Linked DNA regions of Homo sapiens: region 2 is linked to region 1. Evidence: promoter capture Hi-C in human tissues and cell types (Jung and others, 2019). All regions are on one chromosome and are shown on one strand. The core of a region is centred on a gene start or on the middle of the fragment in contact, and the rest is flanking DNA. Distances in the headings are between cores, read along the strand shown.

Evidence for each region. The method cuts DNA at HindIII sites, captures the fragments that hold promoters and counts their contacts. A contact is called where the count stands out against the background at its distance.
Region 2: a fragment that was not itself captured here is called in contact with the fragment with the promoter of RAB7A in region 1 in 1 of the 25 tissues and cell types used here (bladder).

What each region holds. Positions count from the first base shown.
Region 1 is chr3:128,723,594-128,728,717 of GRCh38, reverse strand. It overlaps RAB7A (RAB7A, member RAS oncogene family), which reads right to left and starts at 2,535. Exons shown (of 6, transcript NM_004637.6): 1 at 2,359-2,535. RefSeq lists a silencer at 2,112-2,401 and enhancers at 1,668-2,652, 2,682-2,811. The HindIII fragment of the contact is 11,719 bases long and covers 1,063-5,124 here.
Region 2 is chr3:129,014,333-129,019,456 of GRCh38, reverse strand. All of the region lies in intron 2 of EFCC1 (EF-hand and coiled-coil domain containing 1), which reads right to left. It also overlaps a transcript of CFAP92 not described here. Among named protein-coding and RNA genes, the nearest start is that of EFCC1, 16 kb to the right of the region's middle. RefSeq lists a silencer at 2,191-2,350 and enhancers at 1,952-2,453, 3,131-3,180, 3,201-3,310, 3,024-3,531. The HindIII fragment of the contact is 6,161 bases long and covers 1-5,124 here.

The sequences.
Region 1 (5,124 bases), core at 1,286-3,785:
GGCCGAGACAGGCGGATCACCTGAGGTAGGCAGTTCGAGACCAGCCTGACCAACATGGAGAAAACCTGTCTCTACTAAAAATACAAGATTAGCTGGGCATGGTGGCGCATGCCTGTAATTCCAGCCACTCGGGAGGCTGAGGCAGGAGAATGGCTTGAACCCGGGAGGCAGAGGTTGCAGTGAGCCGACATCGCGCTATTGCACTCTAGCCTGGGCAACAAGAGGGAAACTCCGTCTCAAAATATAAATAAAATAAAATAAATGCCACTAGAGCAAAAGGAGAAACAAGTTGAGTGTTGAAGGTTACTCTTTAAAAGATGTGATTAATTAGAAACTGTAATATTATCTTCTACACTCTCTGAAGAGCAAACCATACAAATGCTGTTGTTAAAATTAACAAAGCCTTAAAGTTAGCCAGAAGAACACCATCCTTTGGGTTACTACTGATTCACCAGCAGAGATGAGAAATAACTCTTTCCAAAAAGCCTCAAGTTCTACCGCCAAATTATTCCACAACAGAATTTCTGGCCAAGATCATTCACCTTTTAAAAATTCCTTGAGGACAGGAACCACGCCTATCTCCCTGAGTCAATGTCCCACAATGCCTGATACATTGCTGATACTCAATGGATACTCAAAATACTTAATGAATGAATAAAAAGGTGCCTATCATTACTCTAAACTCAAACATTATATAAAGCCACAGTACTTATTACTCACTTAAATATTTTAGGCTAGGTAGCAAAGTTAAAAAAAAAAAAGACAAATATGAATACAACAGGATTGTGAACGCTAAGCTTTAACTTAGCCGGTCCCTTCTTCAGAAGAAGTACTCCTAACTCACCTTCCAGTCCTTAAACTCAAATCTGAACAAACCTTCCCAAGTTTGAAGAGAGAAACACACTAAGAGGAGACTTTATTCATCCATGGATGAGAAATCATGTGCTTCATCAGCTGCTTAAGTCACAAGAAAGAGACAAGAGTCCGTTCTTTAGGAAACCAAAGATGCAGTATTTTGAATAGGGAAGAACCAGCCGGCTGGACAGCCATCAACTAAGGTTGTAAGAAAGGTTCACTAGGCAGGTTTGCCAGGCCTACCTGCAAAATTTTTCAAACCTCAGTTAAGTACCCTGCCGGTATTCAAGAGCTCCTAATTCGGTGACACTACACCACAATATGTGTGATAAGTCGCAAACGGCATTTCTTATGGCTTTAAGGGAGAACTGATGCTACCAGAAAGACTTTCAAATGACATCAATAGAAAGAAAGGAGGTGGTGGGAGGCACTGAGGTACAGATACCAGGTAGCAAAAGATAAACCAGCAAGCTTCAGGGGTACGTGAAAGCAGTACAACCTAGAAATTTAATACAGTGCTCTGGAGTCTGACTGCCTGGGCTTGCATCTCTGCTTCGTAACTTATTAGCTGTGTGACCTTGGCCAAATGGCTTAGCCTCTCTGTTCAACTTCCCACTGTGTTAAGTGGGCACAACAGTGGTACTTCAGAGGGTTGTTCAAAGAACTAAACATAATGATCTGTTAAAAGGTCTTGCCACGCTGCCTAGCATACAATAAACGCTCAAATATTTGCTGTCAATATTCTCAATATTCCCCTTATGACCCCATTAGGTATCAAGCCTAAAATGAATGCAGAAAGAGGCCCCAAACACGGTCGGAATGGAAACACAACTCTACATCCAACTACCATCTTTCCTCGATTAAGTTGAAAAACTTCTCTCAGGATTTACCGTAACATGCCTAGGACAAAAAGCTCCCTGTCTCCCAGCGCCAGAGGCGCCTCAATGTACACAAGTGTCGAGGCGAGCCCAGCGCACGTGACCTGACTCACTGCCTTGACTCAGTTGCCGTCAGGGAACTCCCACTAACAGGGTCAGGCTGTTCAACTGAAGAACCGGATGGGAACGCGGCTCGGCCCCCAGCGCCTGTGACCCATGCCCGCCGGGTGGGCACGGCGGCGGGCGGCGTGGGCTCTGACACCCTCCTGCTCGCCGCGCTAAGGAACTCCACTGGCCAGCGCGTCCTGCCGCGGCGCAGGGCCGCCCAAGTCAAGGAACCCTCTCGGGTCTCTGAGATCCAGGCCAACAGTAAACAGAGCGTCCGAGACGGGTGGCCGGGGCGGGCAACCCGGCCAGAGGTCACGCCCGACGACCTCCGACCTCTCCAAGCCGGGTGGGGTCTTGGCCTGCTCCGGGGGCCTGAGCGATGCCGGGTGTGCCCGCGTGGCCAGGGCTGGGACTGGAGCCTGCCCAGGAGGACAGGGAGGACGCGAGGCCCTGGCGACCGAGGGGCTGAGGGGGGGGATGGGGCCAGGCCGCCGGCCGGGCTGGGCCCGCTGCTTACCGCGGCCGCTGCGCTGGGGGCTCCGGGCCGGGCGCGTCGCGAGGGCTCCCGCCGAGGAGGAGACTAAACGGAGGACAGAAGCGAGAAGGTCCAAGTTCTGGTTCCAGGGAACTCTCCCGAGCTCTCCAAGCCGCCAACTCCGCCGCTGCCGCCGCCTCAGGCTTTATGGCCAAGACTCCAGGCCCGCTCCCACTTCCGCCACCGCCGCCGCCCCGAGCGGAAGTACCTGTCACGAGACGCTCGACGCCAGGGTGCGGGGGAGGAGCCCCGCCTCAACCTTGCGTCACGTTCCGGCTGCCTCGGGACTGAGCCTGGATCTCGTGCTACAAACATGTCTGCCCCCAAATGGTTGTCCCCATCTTTGAGGCTCATACAAGGAGCAGGACGGCGCCATGTTGGACCCACAGACAGATTCCCTCAGCCATCCCTCCTTACTCCAGAATAAATAATGCCACCGAAGAGGGGACAAGGGGTAAACTGGCCATTCCAGTTGTGTCCTTCTTCGAAAGGCATCATTTATCCTTACTTTAATTACTTAACCAAAAATTATTATCACCATTTTACAAATAAGGAACTGAGACTCAGTATATCATGTCACTTGGTCTAGCTCAACACAGAAACTGGTGGAGCGAGGTTTTGAACCAAGATCTGTCTGATGCCAATATGTGTTATCGTTCTAGTAGACTGCAAATGACTACAGCAATTGTGTGGCTCGGTGATAGAGACAGGAGAAATAGGCACTTTGTCTGGCAGAGGAGACAGCCCAAGAAAATGGAAAATGAGCTAAAGCCTCTCTGAACTTAGTATTAGAGAAGATGTGATAAAGATGGACCGGGTAGAACTCTTCTTGTAAGCACAGAGCAGCCTCCCAAGCACCAGCCCCATCCGAACACATCAGGATCCACTCAGAATTTTTGCCTCCATCTTCAACAATGCCCTCTCATAGTCTTTTCTTATTTTGGTTCATGCAAGCTCCATTCTTTCAATTGTTCCATCCAAAAACCTTGCAATTGTTACAGTAAGTAGTCAGACCTGAGCAGGGCAGGAGAGGGGCCACTCCCCGACCAGCAATGTGAGGCAACCATGACGTGGTTGTCAGGTTAAGCTGTCTCTCTAAAATAATAATTGGTTGCAGCCAGACCAGAGAAAGGCAGTCTCCCAATAGATAAAAACACCTAAAACTGGTGATCAGCAGCTTCCCGATAAGATCTCAGGAGTTGAGGGGTCTGGGGAAAAAAAAAATCTCAAAAGCTAGGCAAGCAGTCTCAACCCTGAGATGGTACAATGTCTGGGGTTTCCCCTACTTTTTCAACCAAAATTGGCTCTTTCCCCAAAACCCTCACCACCTATTCTCCTGTTTTCTCTATGTGTATTCTGAAATGGCCTTGCACACTGCAGAACCATCCGCCTCTGGGGTAAGTCCACTCTTTCTCTGCTTTCACTTTGCATGTGCCCAGGAGTTCAAGACCAGCTTGGGCAACATAACAAGACTGTCTCTTCCAAAAGATAAACAAAAAAGAAAAGAGAAGGCACACATCTACATCAGACCTCTGCAGTTGTACTTCTCTCTACCTGGAAAGCTCTTCCTCCAGGTATCTGCTTGGCCACTCCCTCACTTTCCTCTGGTCTTGACTTTAAAGTAACCTTTTCAGTGAAATAGCCTTCCCTATTTAAAACTGAAGTCCCTCTCCCTGTCACCACAATACAAACACAAAAATTGACATCTCCCTACTGCTTTTCTCCTCTGTTTTTTCTTTTTTATTTTCTTTTTCTTTTTTTTTTTTTTGAGAAAAGTTCTTGCTCTGTTGCCCATGCTGGAGTGCAGTGGCATAATCAGGGCTTACTGCAGCCTTGAACTTCTGGGCTCAAGTGATCCTCCTGTCTCAGCCTCCTGAGTAGCTGAGACCACAGGCGTGCACCACTATGGCTGGCTAATTTTTTTTTTTTTTTTGTAAAGAGAAGTTTTCACTATGTTACCCAGGCAGTCTTGAACTCCTGGTGTCAAGTAATGGTGTCAAGTAATCCTCCCGACTCAGCCTCCCAAAGTTTTTCCTCTTATACTACTCACTTATTTGCATATTGTCTGTCTTCCCCACTAGAATGGCAGCTCCACAAGGCAGCTATTTTTGTCTGTCTCATTCACTGCGATATCCCTGATTCTTGAAACAGTGTTGGGGTACAGTAGGTGCTCAATGTGTACAATTTGCAGAGTATTCAGGGGAATGAAAACTGAAAATAGTTTCAAAGGCCAAGAGTTATGATAATTCCACCCCGTTAGGCAGCCAATCAAAATGCTAGGTTTGAAGGTAAAGTAGCAACTGGGAATGCAGTAGTCCTCATCCCCAGGTTTGGCAGGGCTGACTGCAGGATTTGAGCATCTGAGTCCTAGAACCAATCCACCACAAATAGCAAGGGACAATTATACCAGAAAAGGCAGAGCACAAAAATAAAATGGGACATGTGGGCCCCAGCCTTCTAAGAAGCCTTCTGAGAAGGCTATTCAGATGCAAACATGGACTATTTCCTATGGGAAAGAAAGGACAACTTAGAAGAAACCCATGAGCCAAGAGGATAGAGCCAGGAGCTGCAGATAATCATTCCCAAGGAGCAGGAGGGGACTCGAATCAAGGAACTGGCATCACGTGCCTCGCTGATTTCAGAATTACTATGACCCAGTGGCAGCTGTCGCTCCTGTTTTTTCCCCTTTTGAACAAAAGTGTCTACTATGCTTATCTTCTTCTTGCCAACTCTGTATGCTGGGTCCGT
Region 2 (5,124 bases), core at 1,647-4,146, 290 kb before region 1:
TCAAAGGAATTATTGGACTGATGAGCAAACCACTAAGACAAACACTGATGAGTGGACTGACTGGGCTTCTAAATCCCATGTGAGTGAAGGTAGCCAGCCCTCGCTAAACCTAAACCTACCCAGGACAAACTTAAAGCTGGGTCCCTGTCTTCATCACCCAAAAGGGTAGACTCCAGGTGGACTGAACACCTAAAAGATACAATTAAAACAAAAGAATATCCAGCAGAATACCCTTGTGACCTAGGAACGGAGGACCACTCAAGAATTCAAAGGCAAAAATCATAAAGCCAAAAGAATTTGGTGAACCTGATTACATCAAAGAACACACTGGGGCCAGCTGGCATCACTTGGTCAAATCATTTATGTGTCTCCACAAGACCCAGCAACCCCTCTCCTGGGACAGTTCTCACAGCAGGCTGCTGCACGGTGGTGTGGGGGAGGACACGCACTTGGTGTCATCTGGAGTGGCAGGCAGTTGGAGGCAGCCTAGTGTCCACCCCTGGGAGTGGATGGAGGAGTTTGCAGAGGGGAAAAGCAGCCAGAAGATGCACTCGCAGAACAACATTTGGGGTGGGAACTCCAGCGCCGAGTGGGGAGTCAGAGGCACAGTGAGACATGTGCCACAACGCCGCCAATGGGGTGCAAACAGACCCGAAAGACTCACTTCGCAAGAACACATCCCAACAAGAAGATACAGAGAAATCACCGGGGAGGGACTGCCTGAAGGGCAGGAAGGCGTGTGGGAACAAGAGGTGAGAGAGTCCATCCCTGCCCCTGCCCAGTCCCCTGCTCAGAATACATGAGGAATCCCAAGGTTGGAATTGCTGGTCACCAATGACCAGCACATTGTCATTTGACTCAGGGCTGGCATACTTATGCCATAAAGGGCCAGAGAGTAAATACTTCAGGCTTTGAAGCCCATGAGGTTGTTGTCAGAGCTACTCCACTCTGCACAGGAGCAGTCCCAGAAAATATGTAAACAAGTGGACATGGCTGTGTTCCAATAAAACTTTATTCATCGACACTAAAATTTGAATTTTATGAAATTTTCATATGTCATGAAATATCCCTTTTTTAGTTTTTTCCTAGCCATTTAAAAATGTAAAAACTATTCTTAGTTTGTGGATTGTATAAAAATAAGGGTGGAGCTGGACTGGCCCACAGGCTGTAGTTTGCTAACCCCGGATTTAACTGATGACTTCTGCTCCCTATGGAGACAATTTGTCTCCCTATGGAGGCAAACATGTTTAATGAGCCTGGAGAACTGAGGTCTCATCTTTACTCCCAAGGCCAGCCAGCACCTCTGGATTTCCTAAGATAACTAATCCTATTAGGTTATAGAATAATTGAAACCAAGCATCTGGCTGGGGATAAAAAGACCACCCTGAGGGGCACAGGGACCCTCTTGTATGGCCAGGACTGCATACTATATGGTAGCCAGGAGGGAGGGCTGTTATTTTCTTGCTTCAATGAGCAGCATTGATTTCTGTTGTTTGCAGCCATAACTTCCTGGCTGGTACAGCCTTGAGGAACTCACTTCACTTCTCTGAGGTTAACTTTCTTTCCAGTGAAATGTCTGCCTCACGGGGGTGGGCAGAATGTCTAGGAATGGGCCCCCAAGTTCCACACCCTAATTCTCAAAGCCTGTGAGTGAAGTGAGCCTGTCACTCAGAGATGGCATGATGTTCTGTGGCACAGCTGACCAGAAGACGGGATTATCCCTGTCTAATCACACAAGTCCCTTGAAATGCAGATAGCTTTCTGGGCTGGTGTAGAAGAGGCTGTGAGAGAGATGTGAAGTGTGAGAAGGACATGGGGCAGGTCGTTGCTGGCTGGAAGATGAAAGCAATGTGGGTGAAGGAATGCAGAGAGCAACCCCAGCTGACAGCCGGCAAGGAAATAGGGCCTCGGTCCCACGGCCAAAAGGAGCTGGATTCTGCCAACACTGGAACGGGCTTTCCCAGGGGGTCCAGACCCGGCCAAGGGTGCCTTGCTTTCGGCCTTGTGCGAGCTTGTGCAGAGAAGCCCGCCACGCCCGCCTGGACTTCCGGCCTACGGAATTATGAGGTCACAGGTGGGTGTTGTTTCAAGTCACTAAGAGTGTGGTGATCGGCTATGGTTGTGATAGAAACCAAATTCAGCCATCCAAACAACCACACCCCATCTGCTGTCAGCTCAACCCCGACTGTGGCCTTGTGCTCCCAGAGAGACTTGACTGGCCTGAGCCAATCATGAAGCCGCCTTCACGAAGCCTCAATCATGAAGCTTCCTTCAGATTGGTTTAGAAACAGGCATGTGATGCAATTCTGGCCAAAGAGAGGTGAGGGGAAGTCTGCCAGGAGGACCCGTGGATATGGCAGTGATGCCTGAGGCCATGGCAGCTCTCTTGCAACCATGAGGGGTCCTTGCTGACAGGCCAAAATGACAAGCTGAGGAAAACAGAGTGGAAGATGAATCAGGTCCTTGAAAACTTTACTGAACTGCCAAGGAACTGCTCTCCCCTGGACTTCTCACATGAGATAATAAATGTCCTTGTGGTTTAAGCCATTCTGAGTTGGGTTTTATGTTCTTGCAGCATAAAGCATCATCACTGATAAACCACTCACAGCACTGCTTGGGAGTGCAATAAGGTTGTACAGATAAAGTCCTTAGTGCAGTGCCTAACACCCAGTGAGTGCTCAAAAATGTTAGCTTTTGTTCCTTAATCAGTTCCGCCCCCTCCTGCCTCAGGCCCTGTACGAGTCAGGGTTTGACCAGAGAAGTGGGGCCAGTGTGTGGAATCCATCTACAGCCATGCCTGCAGCTGTAGCTCTGTCTCCAGGGCTTTATGACAAGCAGGTGGCCTGTGTGATCACGGGGGCTGGCTAAATGAGTCTGGAATCCACAGAAGGGAAGCTGGCAGGCAGGTGGAGCTCACGGGCACGGCTTATGGGCTTCCCCAGAGGCTCTAGACACGGGCGTGCCCATGAGCTCCACCTGCCTGCCAGCTTCCCTTTTGTGGACTTCAGGCTTGCTTAGCCAGCCCCCACAATCACACAGCCCACTTCCTTGTCATAAAGTCCTTCAGAAAGAGCTACAGCTTGTAGGCCTGGCTGTAGATGGATTCCACACCCTTCTGTCCACAGGTGGAACTTCTCTTTCACACAGAAGCCTGTTTGGCTCTTGAAGCCCACCCAGACCAGCCAGGATAATGTCCCTTACCTAAAGTCAACTGATGACAGACTTTAATCCATATGCAGAATACCTGTACAGCAACTGTAGCTTAGTGTTTGACCGGTTAACTTGCTGTAACCAAGGGAGCGGTCAAGGCATCACATCAAAGCCAGGGGGACGCATCAAAAGCCCATTACACCGCCTGGGCTCAGTTTATTCTGGAATAGATGAAAAATGTCACTGCTGTCTTTTTCTCTCTGCTTCCTATGCTCTGAGCCGCTCAGTGACTCAGCAAGTCTCAGGAAGCTGCAGAGCTGACAGGTCCCTCAGAACCCAGCCAGGCTACTTTGGGCCATCAGGCCACGGCCACGCTGCAGCACCTACTCTGGGAGGTCCTGGAGGTTCGCACACAGCGGCTTCCTTTGCTGCATGGCGTTTCCTGAGTGAAGCAGCCTTACAGGAAACAGAGAGCAACATGTGAAAACAAGAGAACAACAGCAGGAAGAACAGCTTGGGGTAGGGGGGCGGGATGCAGCAGAGGAAGGGCGGAAAATAAATCACAAGGGGTGGGGGGACAGTCCTCAGGGGTCCTCTGTGACTCCTCTCTGGTCCCTACCTGAATTCGGGAACCCCCCCAACTTTACTGAGCAGGGGATGGCGGTGGGAAGGGTGCAACAGGAGTGTGCGAGCAGACACGGACACTCAGCTCTCGGGGGCGCCGTGCAGGGTGTCAGCCTGGGCTGGGTGACTTCTAAGGCCCTGCCAGCCCAAGCTGCTGACTTGGTTCTTTAATTCACCGAAGGATGAAGTATTGAGCCAGCCACTGTCCTTAGCAATGGCATGGCCCCTGACCTCACAGAGCTTACCCCGCAACCTCCCCCCCCGAAGGAGCAGACCTCAATGAAGTCATCACAAAAATACATGAAGGACAGAAAAGTCCAGGGGCCGTGAAAGACGTTAGGAAGAGGCTGTAGATGGAGGTGGGGCCTCCCTAAAGAGTTGGGGTCTGGCAAGACCTGAAGGGTGAATGTGGATTGGTCAGGAGTAGGCTTGGGGATGGTGGAGGGAGCCGTATGCCCAAAGGGCCTGAGAAGGGGAGCCCTGGAGGGTCAGTGTGGCTGCAGGAGAGGATGGGAAAGGGCCTGGTCACTCACAGTCATGATGGTCACCAGAGGAGGTCACAGGAGAGTTGTGAGTGGGCGAGCCCGAGGTGGGATCTGGGTGTTGAAAAGATTAACCTGATGCTGTGTGGTCCGTGGTTCTGATGGAGCTGGGACACCAGTCAGGAGGCTAGGACAGCTGTCCAGGAGTGGTGCTGGGGCTGGGCTGGGTGGTGGGTGCGACTGGAGAGTAGCAGGTGGGTCTGAGCCACTTGGAGCTGAGACTTAGCAGGACTCCGTGTGTACAGGTGAGGAGGGCTCTTCACCTGCTCCTCCTCACTGGCCCCTCCTCACTGGCCCCTCGGCATCCAGGCTGGCTCCAACCTGCTCGTCCCCGTGCAGGCAGTGCAGACAAGCCAAGCTTGTGCCCAGCCCTGTGATTTTGCTATGGGAGTCACCTCCGCCCTGGATCACACAAGTCATGGCCCCACCTTGCCACTCAGGCCTCAATTCCAGGGTCACATCTCAGAGAAGTCTCCTGTGATGGGCTGGTTGTGTCTCCCCAATTCATATGTTGATGTCCAGACCCCCAGAGCTCCTCATAATGTGATCTTATTTGGCGATGGGACCTTTAATGAGGTAATCAAGTTAAAATGAGGTCTTTAGGGTGGGCCCTAATCCAGTCTGACTGGTGTCCTTCTAAGAAGAGGGGATTAGGACAGAAATACACACAGAAGGAAGACCACGCGAGGATACAGGGAGAAGGCGGCCCTGGCTGCCAGCCCAGGAGAGAGGCCGCAGGAGAAGCCAACGCTGCGACACCGCACTCTGGTCAGCCTCCACAGCTGTGGGAGACAAATGCCTGTTGTTG